Linked DNA regions of Homo sapiens: regions 1 and 2 are each linked to region 3. Evidence: promoter capture Hi-C in 16 types of primary human blood cells and fetal thymus (Javierre and others, 2016). All regions are on one chromosome and are shown on one strand. The core of a region is centred on a gene start or on the middle of the fragment in contact, and the rest is flanking DNA. Distances in the headings are between cores, read along the strand shown.

Region 1 (2,700 bases), core at 166-2,665, 200 kb after region 3:
TCATGCCTGTAATCCCAACACTTTCAGAGGCCAAGGCAAGCAGATCACAAGGTCAGGAGTTCGAGTGAAACTCGTCTCTACTAAAAATACGAAAATTAGCTTGATATGGTGGCACGTGCCTGTAATCCCAGCTACTCAGGAGGCTGAGGCAGGAGAATTGCTTGAATCCAGGAGGTGGAAGTTGCAGTGAGCTGAGATGGTGCCACAGCACTCTAGCCTGGGCGACAAAGCAAGACTCCGTCTCAGGGGGAAAAAAAAAAAAGAATCATTTGGCTGGGCACAGTGGCTCACTCCTGTAATCCCAGCACTTTGGGAGGATGAGGTGGGCAGACTGTGTGAGCCCAGGAGTTCCAGACCAGCCTGGGCAAGGGCAACATGGTGAAACTCAGTCTCTACAAAAAAAAAAAAAAATTAGCCAGGCATGGTGGCGTGCACCTGTAGTCCCAGCTACTCGAGAGGCTGAAGTGGGAGGATCACCTGAGCCCTGGGATGTCAAGGATAAAGTGAGCCGTGATTGTGCCACTCCACTCCTGTCTCAACAAAGAAATGAATCAGTTGCTCTGACATTGTCAAGAATAGTAACAGTGGCTCACATGTCACCACCTAGTTATCATCCTGCACTGAGAAGAGTCATGGTGAAATTGACACATTTTTTCCTTGCTTAGTGAAGTAGAAAATAAGGGTGTGTCTTACAATCAATGGATCTTAGATTCAATGAAATACTGGAAATGTATTAACAACTATTATTTAAGGCAGGAAGTGGTAAAGATGTGCTGTTAAAATTTGCATTATCAGATCAATGACATTAAAATTGAGAATGGCATCACTTATGAAAACATTTTTATTATTCATTCATTCCACAAACGTAGGGGCTTTCCATGTGCAGGGCACAGTGCTGGACACTGAGGCCTCTGCCCTCCAGTGCTCATCCAGGGCTTGGTCCTCCAAGCCTACCTGGACTCTGCCTTTCTTTGGGACGTTGTCCTGGACTTCAGTCCATCCAGTACTTCTTTCCAGAACTTCAGAATGGAAGCACAGGTGAAAATCACTATATTTCACCACTGATCATGGGAACCTAGAGTGGAATATCATTACTGCATCACAGACAAGATCACAGACAGGGTAAGAAGGGGGAGAGAGGAAATTTACAATTCCTCATAAATAGTTCCTTATTTACAGAGATTGTAAGTGATTATGTAAATCACAGAGCTTCCAATTAAAACCAGCTCAAGCTACAAACATGAAAGTCCAGGGGCAGTGCCAGAGCCACCTCACTTGCCCGAGTGCTGCTCTCCAGGGCTTGCTACCATCTGCTCGTGTGCCCCTTAAAGTGAGGGCAATGGTAGAGACAGCACCGGCCTCTAGTCCTAGGAAGCACACATGCATTCATGTCAAGCACTGGGGGTTGAGTGGGGAGGAGGAGGGGGACAGGGGATTATCTGACAGCTGAGGATCTAGGGGATCCTGGCGGAGTCTGGGTCACAGCTGGAGCCCAGTTGTGGCTGAGATCTCCAGTAGCTGAGGGGGAACTAATGTATCAAAATGGGAGGGTCCCAAACTGGCCGGCCACCATAAGGGCCTGCCTGAAAAGCCCAAGGGACTGGCCTAAATCTTCAGATGGTGGCGGGGCCGCCAGGATCTCAGGGGGGCTTCTCAGCTGCTGGCAGGCCATGTCCAGGTTTCCTACCTCCCTTCTGCTCAACCTTTAGGTGCTTCTGCAACATTTACTGCAGCCCATGCTGCCTGCTGTTGTCTGTGTGTCCTCTGCCAGGTGCCACCATTGATGTCAGATACCCTTCCCAGCCCCACAGCTAGGAACCAGGCCTGTCTTTGTATCCCAGTGGCTGGCACACGTTGGATCCTCAGAAAGCCCCCTTTGCCTGCCTGCTCCAACAATGGCTTGAAGACAAATATTACACCAACTGGGCAGGGCGCTGTGAGGGCCAAGATGGCTGGTCCTGAGCACTGGGCCACAGCCAGCCCAGGCCCTTCCGGGACACATGGCCCACAAAGCTGCCTTTCCCAGGTAATGGGGAGCAAGGGGGAGACAGAAGTCAGGGAAAGTTTCCATGAAATCTTACAACTCACCAAGGCTGTTGGATTCGCATCTGAGGGACGCTTGGGCTCAGCCTATTAAACAGGAGGCTGGGTCTGGCCTGGACTCCGTCCAAGGCCTCCTGCCACCACCGCCCACCCTAGGAAGCACTTTAGAATCTTCACAGTCAGCATCCAGGAAACCAACGGCTATGGCTAAGAGTGAGCACCTTGGATGTCCCTTCAAAGCACTGAGTAATTACGTCTCCTAACTTGGACCTTTGTCTCTGAAAATCACTCGCCTAATAGAACAAGGCAAAGCCAGCCACTCCTGCGCACCCCATCTCCAAGCCCAGGCCTTCCCCTCAGTGAGGCTCAGGTGTTTGGGACTGGCCTCTATCCCAGCCGCCTCCCTGCAACGAGAAGGCCCATGGGCAATCTCAGTGCCTGGGAGAACAGCCCTCCCCCGGGAAGCCAAGACCATGGCCAGAATACTTTGACCTGGCCAAGAAGTGGCCCCCAGGAGAGGTTGCTCAGATTTAAGGGGCACCAACTGCCCCTGGGCCCTCAGAGCCCCTTTAGGGAGCTCTCTGGGTGCTACCCACATTCTCCATCTTCACGCGAGAAAGAGAACTGGGCAAGGGACCCCCACCCAAGACCTTCCTG
Region 2 (2,797 bases), core at 28-2,527, 230 kb after region 3:
TGATCATGGTATGTGGTCATTGTTCAGGAAAAGGGTAAAAACAGATGGATGAAGCGCATGTGGCAAAACCCAGCAGAGTGTTGAGTTTTGGTGACGATCATTTGGAGATTCGCTGTGCTATTCTACTTTATTAAAATTTAATTGAAAAAATAAAGCTCCCCAGAGGATTGTGATGTGCAGTCCCCTTTGGAACCACTGTCCTATATACCAGCTACAAGGACAGGGCATGCCTGGCCCTCCTACCAAGGGCCATGTACACAAATGGAAGCCAGCACGTGACATGCCTTCCTGCCACAGGCTGGGGTTGTGGGACTGCAATAGGGGACACAAGCAATAGCGGGGACATGGACACACGTGAAGATGCCAGGAGGCAGCAGTGCTGCTGGTGGAGGTATTACTAAGTCCCCATTATTTTTTTTTTTAGATGAAGTCTTGCTCCGTCACCCAGGCTGGAGTGCAGTGGCGCAATCTCGGCTCATTGCAAACTCCGCCTCCCGGGTTCACGCCATTCTCCTGCCTCAGCCTCCCGAGTAGCTGGGACTACAGGCGCCTGCCACCACGCCCGGCTAATTTTTTGTATTTTTACTAGAGAAGGGGTTTCACTATGTTAACCAGGATGGTCTCGATCTCCTGACCTCATGATCCGCCCGCCTCAGCCTCCCAAAGTGCTGGGATTACAGGCGTGAGCCACCGCGCCAGGCCAGTCTCCACTATTATAAAGTGATCAGTATGTACATGCTTAACACTTATCACTCAGTCATCACAACCACGTAAGGTGAGTGTGATGTTCCACCTTAGACAGATATAGAAACCCTATGGCTCAAGCCAGCCACCCACTCCTGCCCAGGGTGGCCTTGTACAGAGTGGTCCCACTTTGGGTTAATGGTCTATGCTCCCTTCCTGCCCTCCCTGATTGTCTGGGAAGCCCGAGAGGGTAGGCGATGGTGCAGCTAGCCCCTGGCGGCCCCCCAACCACATCTGGCTCCTATACTTACCAGTGCCCATCATCCTTGGACGTCCCACCTCTACTTCATTCCCCTTCTCCTGGCCCCACCGGTCAAGACAAGGCTCCTCTCCCCTCTCTATCCGGGTGAGGATGTCTGGTTTGGAGATTGCATAATCTGTGCACAGAACAAGAAATGAGGAAGAGCTGGACCCCACATGCCCACAGAGATGCAGAGATGCCCAAAGTACCAAAAGCCAAAGCAAAGACACAGACTGTCCACAGACAACCTGTGGACAGAGGCCCAGATCCTCCCTCCGTGGCCTTACCCAGGGAGACCAGCGTCTCGTAGTTGCCCCTCATCACGTGCTTGTAGAGCTCCTTCTGCCAGTCCTCCAGCTTGCCCCACTCCAGCTCAGAGAAATACACGGCCACATCATCGAAGGTCACGGGCACCTGGAACCATAAGTGTCGCACTCACTCACCCACACGCTCACAGGCTCAGCCCCTCGAGCTCCCCCACCCCAGGGTGTCCCGGTGCTACCTTGGGGGCCTCCCCCTTGCTGCCCGGGGGCAGCCGCAAGATCCAGAAGTTCCTGTTGCGCAGCAAGTTCTCCACATTCTCCAGCCGCCTCTGCAGCAGCCCGTACTCCTGCAGCAAGGTCCCCAGCACGGCCCACTTGCCCTCCAGCTGGTTCCCGAACTCCACAGCTGTCTTCTCGCAGTCGGCCAGCTTCTTCTCGGCTGTCCCCGTGCGCCCCTCCAGAGTCAGCAAGCGGGTCAGGCAGGAATCCACCTTCTTCTCCAAGGCCTGAATGGCGGCCACCACCGTCCACAGTGTGATTTCCGTGGAGTAGAGGTACGAGTTCTTCTCAGCAGCTGGCTGGGGCAAGGGTGTCGAAGGACTCTGGTCCTCTGTGTGCTTGTCTGTCTCGGGGTCCTGCTCACAAGAAGAGAAAAGAGAGATGTTATGAGAATTATACAATCAAAACTTCCACCTCAAAAACACACTTCGGAAATGACACCTGCCATGGTAAAGTCCCATCTGGGCTCCTGAGTTAGCAGCAGACTGGGGGGGAGAGGGAGAGGCTAGGGTATCAGTTAGGAATCCAGCCTAACTGATACAAGAGATAGTGGCTGGACCAACGTGTCAGCAAGTGGGAAAGTGGAAGAAAAACAGCCCCGGCTCCTGTCCTACAGGCTAGCTATGGAGACGGGGCATGCCCCACAGGCTTGAGCAACCACGTGCAGTCTCAAACAAGTGACTCCCCTTCTTGGGTCTCAGTTTCCTCTTCTAAAAATGAAAGGACAAGGCTTTGTGGCACAGAGAACATGACTCCCCAGTGGACAGCCCAGGTGCAACTCAGCTCTGCCACTTACAAGCTGGCCAACTGTGGGCAAGGTGTTTTCAACAGCTTCCAACTTCCCTTCCCTATCTAGAAAATGGAGATAATAATAGTACCTATACAATAGCACTGAGAGAATTAAGAAAAATCTGTGTACAAAGCACTTAGTACAATGTGTAGCACAGCACAGATAATAAACATGAGCCCCATGTTGCAGGGCTAAGATGACACTGACTGCTATGGAATGAATGCTTGTGTCTCCCTCAATATCCATCTGCTGAAGCATTAATCCCCAATATGCCGGTATTTGGAGGTGGAGCTTCTGGGAGGCAATTAGGCCATGAAGGCAGAGCCCTCATAAATAGGATTAGCGCCCTTGTAAGAGGAGACACAAGGGAGATGATCTTGCTGTATGCCACGTGAGGATACAATGAGAAGGCAGCCGTCTGCAAACCAGGAAAAGAGCCCTGCCGGGAACCAAGGCAGCCTGAGCAGACTGAGACAATGA
Region 3 (2,755 bases), core at 40-2,539:
GCGTGAGCCACTGCGCCCGGCCCTAAAATGCTTTATATCTTCCTACATCAATTTTTTTTTGGGCTGTCATCCAGCTCACACCTCTACTACCACCCTCTGGTCTGAAATGCTCTCTGCCTATCAATATTTTGCCAATTCTTCAAGATCCAGCTCAAATTTTATCTATTCTGTAAGGTCTGCCTTCTTTGAAAAAGATTACAGATCTCTCACATATTTTCTTATCAGTGTGTGCTAGGCAGTTGGCTAGTTAGTCTTGGGGAATACACAGATGAGCAAGTCGTGTTCCTGAAAGGCAATGAGCCTCTGAAACTACGTGGGGGCCCGTCCAAGGCGCCCTCCTTCCCCTGCTCTGGTTGGCCTCTTTGAGAACATTTAAATTTTTATTTTTCTCTCCTTGTTTAAAAATACTATCCTTGTCATGGAAAAATAAAAACATGAATTGGAAAAAATTAGAAAAGGCATAAAAACGGCCCGTGGTCTATTAAAGGAATAGACCTTTAATAGAACTACTGAGGCCATGTTGATATATATGCTTCCAAACTTTTCAAAACTGTAATTATACATGTACGCAGTATATGACGCTACATATGTCCTATATTGTTTTAAAATGTTATTTTTAAAACAAAGACAGGATCGTCCTGGACAGGCTTTTTCTCTTAAAACATCATGAACATCTGTTCCTACCAAGACCTTCACCGAAATCATTTTAAATGATGGTATTGCGTCCCATTGCTCATGCCATTAAAAAAATTTACTGTAATAAACCCATTACAGAAAATGCTAAGTGGTTGCCTACCGGGGTTTACCGAACTATATTCCTGTTGTTGGAAGTATTTATTCCATTTCAAACACAGGTGGGCATGAGTTACATCTGTCCTCCCCAAAATAGCCTAAACCTCCAGACCCAGGACCTCGGGCAGCAGAAGTGCCCGTGGGGCGGGGGAAGGGGAGCCGGGCATCCCAGGGCGAGGGGGCCGCCCTGGCCGCGGTCACCCGGGGGACGCCCTGCCCGGAAGCCCGTGCTCGCCCGCGGGCGCGGCCAGGCGGGTCCCATGAGGGGGACCCTTTCAATAACCGAGTCCTCGGGCTGGGCCGCGGGGCCAGCGCAGTGACTCCCCCCGCGCTCGGCAGTCCGGCCGGGGTCGCGGGGTCGCGGGGTCGCGGGGTCGGCCCGGGGTCGCTAGGTCCTCCCGTCGGGCCCCGCGGGCGGGGCTGGGCGGGGCGGGGCGGGGCCGCGGGCAGGCGGGCGCAGCGCCTGCCGTTCGCCTCTCAGGCTGCAGGTGGGGCTGTGCGGCCGCGCTGCCTCCAGGAAGCCTCACGGGCCTTCGTCTGCCGGGCCGCGGCGCCGGCTCCCAGGATGCAGTGTGGACCGGCCGGGCGCTGACGGAGGCGGCGCGACTGCGGGCGGCGCGGCGCAGGGGCAGCCAGCGAGGAGCGGCGGCAGAGGAAAGGCCAGGCAGGCGCCGCCTGCGGAGAGCACCGGGCGGCCGGGCCTGCGTGGTGCCGCGCGCGGCGGCGGCGACGACGACTTCCTCCGGGCCGGGCGGGACAGCGCAGGGCCATGGCCGAGGCGGTCGCGGCTCCGGTAAGGGCGACCCGCGCGCGCAGGGACTCGCGGCCTGGGGGCCCCAGGCGGCCCGGCCCCGGCACACGGCGCCGCAGGCCCTGGGGAGGGGTTCCGGGGTCCGGGCCGGACCACCGGGCCTGGGGCTCCCGCGAATGGGGCGCGGGGTCCGCCGGGGCCTACTGCGCCCGTCGGCCGGGCCCCCACTCCGAGCCGAACCCGAGCGCTGGCGGAACGGTTGTCCCCGCCCCGGGCCGCCCCACGCCAAGTTCTTTGGGCCCTCCGGGGCTTCCTGCCCCCGCCCCAGCCGCTGTCCCCTCCTTCTGGGTGCCCCCCCACCCGCGGCTCCTTTCTCTGCCTGGCGCTCGGCCTGTAGGTCCCTCTCCATCTCCCCCGCAGCGGCCTGGTGGCACCTGGGAGGTGTCCGGCTTCGAATCCGCATACACCGACTCCCACTACGTGCCCAGCTTCCCGGGGTCGGCGCGGAAGGGAATATAGAGCCACGCACTTCCACAAGCCCTGTTGAGGCGTTAGTCTGTCCTCACAGCAAGCCTGTGGGATGGGTACTGGTGTTAATCTCTGTCATACAAAAGAAAAACCCGGGGCCTAGAGAACTTAACTTGCCCAGGCTTACCCAGCTGGAAAGTGTGAAAAGACACACAGTGGCTGTGTGTTCAAGGACCAGGCAGGCAGGTACGCGGGCAATAATCGTGCAAAACAGAAAGGGGTGAGTGCTGGCGCCCAGGTGGAAGCTTGCGGTGGGCTCCGGGGGAAGGAGTGTCAGGGGGCCTCTTGGTACCGCTGTCCACCCCTCCTGGCCTGATGCTCTGCGCCTCTGTGATTTGAGCCGGGCTTTTAGGGAAGGCTAGGATTTCAGGCCCAGCTAGACCGGTGGTGCTTTCAGGGAGGGAGGAGTGCCTGGGCAAAGGCGCAGAGAGACGGGACAGTGCAGGGCGTGTGCAGGCACAGAAAGGAGTCCATGAGCCTGGAGAAGATGGTTTTGGTTTGGAGGCAGTGGGAAAGGAGTCTGCAGAGAGAGACTAAGAAGGGGTTTGCATGCCTGGACTTCATCCTGCGGGTGGGCAGTGGATGAGGGATCCGGCTCCTCTTACCATCAGCTCCTCTCAAGCAAAGAGTTTCAGCTCCCCTGGCAGGAGTCCAAGGACAGCCCCACATATTCCAGCCACTTGT

Evidence for each region. The method cuts DNA at HindIII sites, captures the fragments that hold promoters and counts their contacts. A CHiCAGO score of 5 or more calls a contact.
Region 1: a contact is called between a fragment that was not itself captured here and the fragment with the promoter of ZNF746 in region 3, in 3 of 17 cell types (M2 macrophages, activated CD4 T cells and erythroblasts). The highest score is 6.6, in M2 macrophages.
Region 2: a contact is called between a fragment that was not itself captured here and the fragment with the promoter of ZNF746 in region 3, in 14 of 17 cell types (neutrophils, naive CD4 T cells, total CD8 T cells and 11 more). The highest score is 11.2, in neutrophils.

Annotation. Positions count from the first base shown.
Region 1 is chr7:149,295,426-149,298,125 of GRCh38, reverse strand. It overlaps the pseudogene LOC155060. Among named protein-coding and RNA genes, the nearest start is that of TRC-GCA1-1, 13 kb to the left of the region's middle. The HindIII fragment of the contact is 7,615 bases long and covers 1-2,700 here.
Region 2 is chr7:149,265,421-149,268,217 of GRCh38, reverse strand. ZNF783 (zinc finger protein 783) reads right to left here. Exons shown (of 6, transcript NM_001195220.2): 2 at 1,488-1,883; 3 at 1,273-1,399; 4 at 996-1,121. Among named protein-coding and RNA genes, the nearest start is that of ZNF783, 4.6 kb to the right of the region's middle. The HindIII fragment of the contact is 3,269 bases long and covers 1-2,797 here.
Region 3 is chr7:149,496,343-149,499,097 of GRCh38, reverse strand. ZNF746 (zinc finger protein 746) reads left to right here and starts at 1,289. Exons shown (of 7, transcript NM_001394198.1): 1 at 1,289-1,585. The coding sequence starts at 1,562. RefSeq lists silencers at 925-1,594, 1,835-1,894 and an enhancer at 2,028-2,755. The HindIII fragment of the contact is 2,699 bases long and covers 1-2,318 here.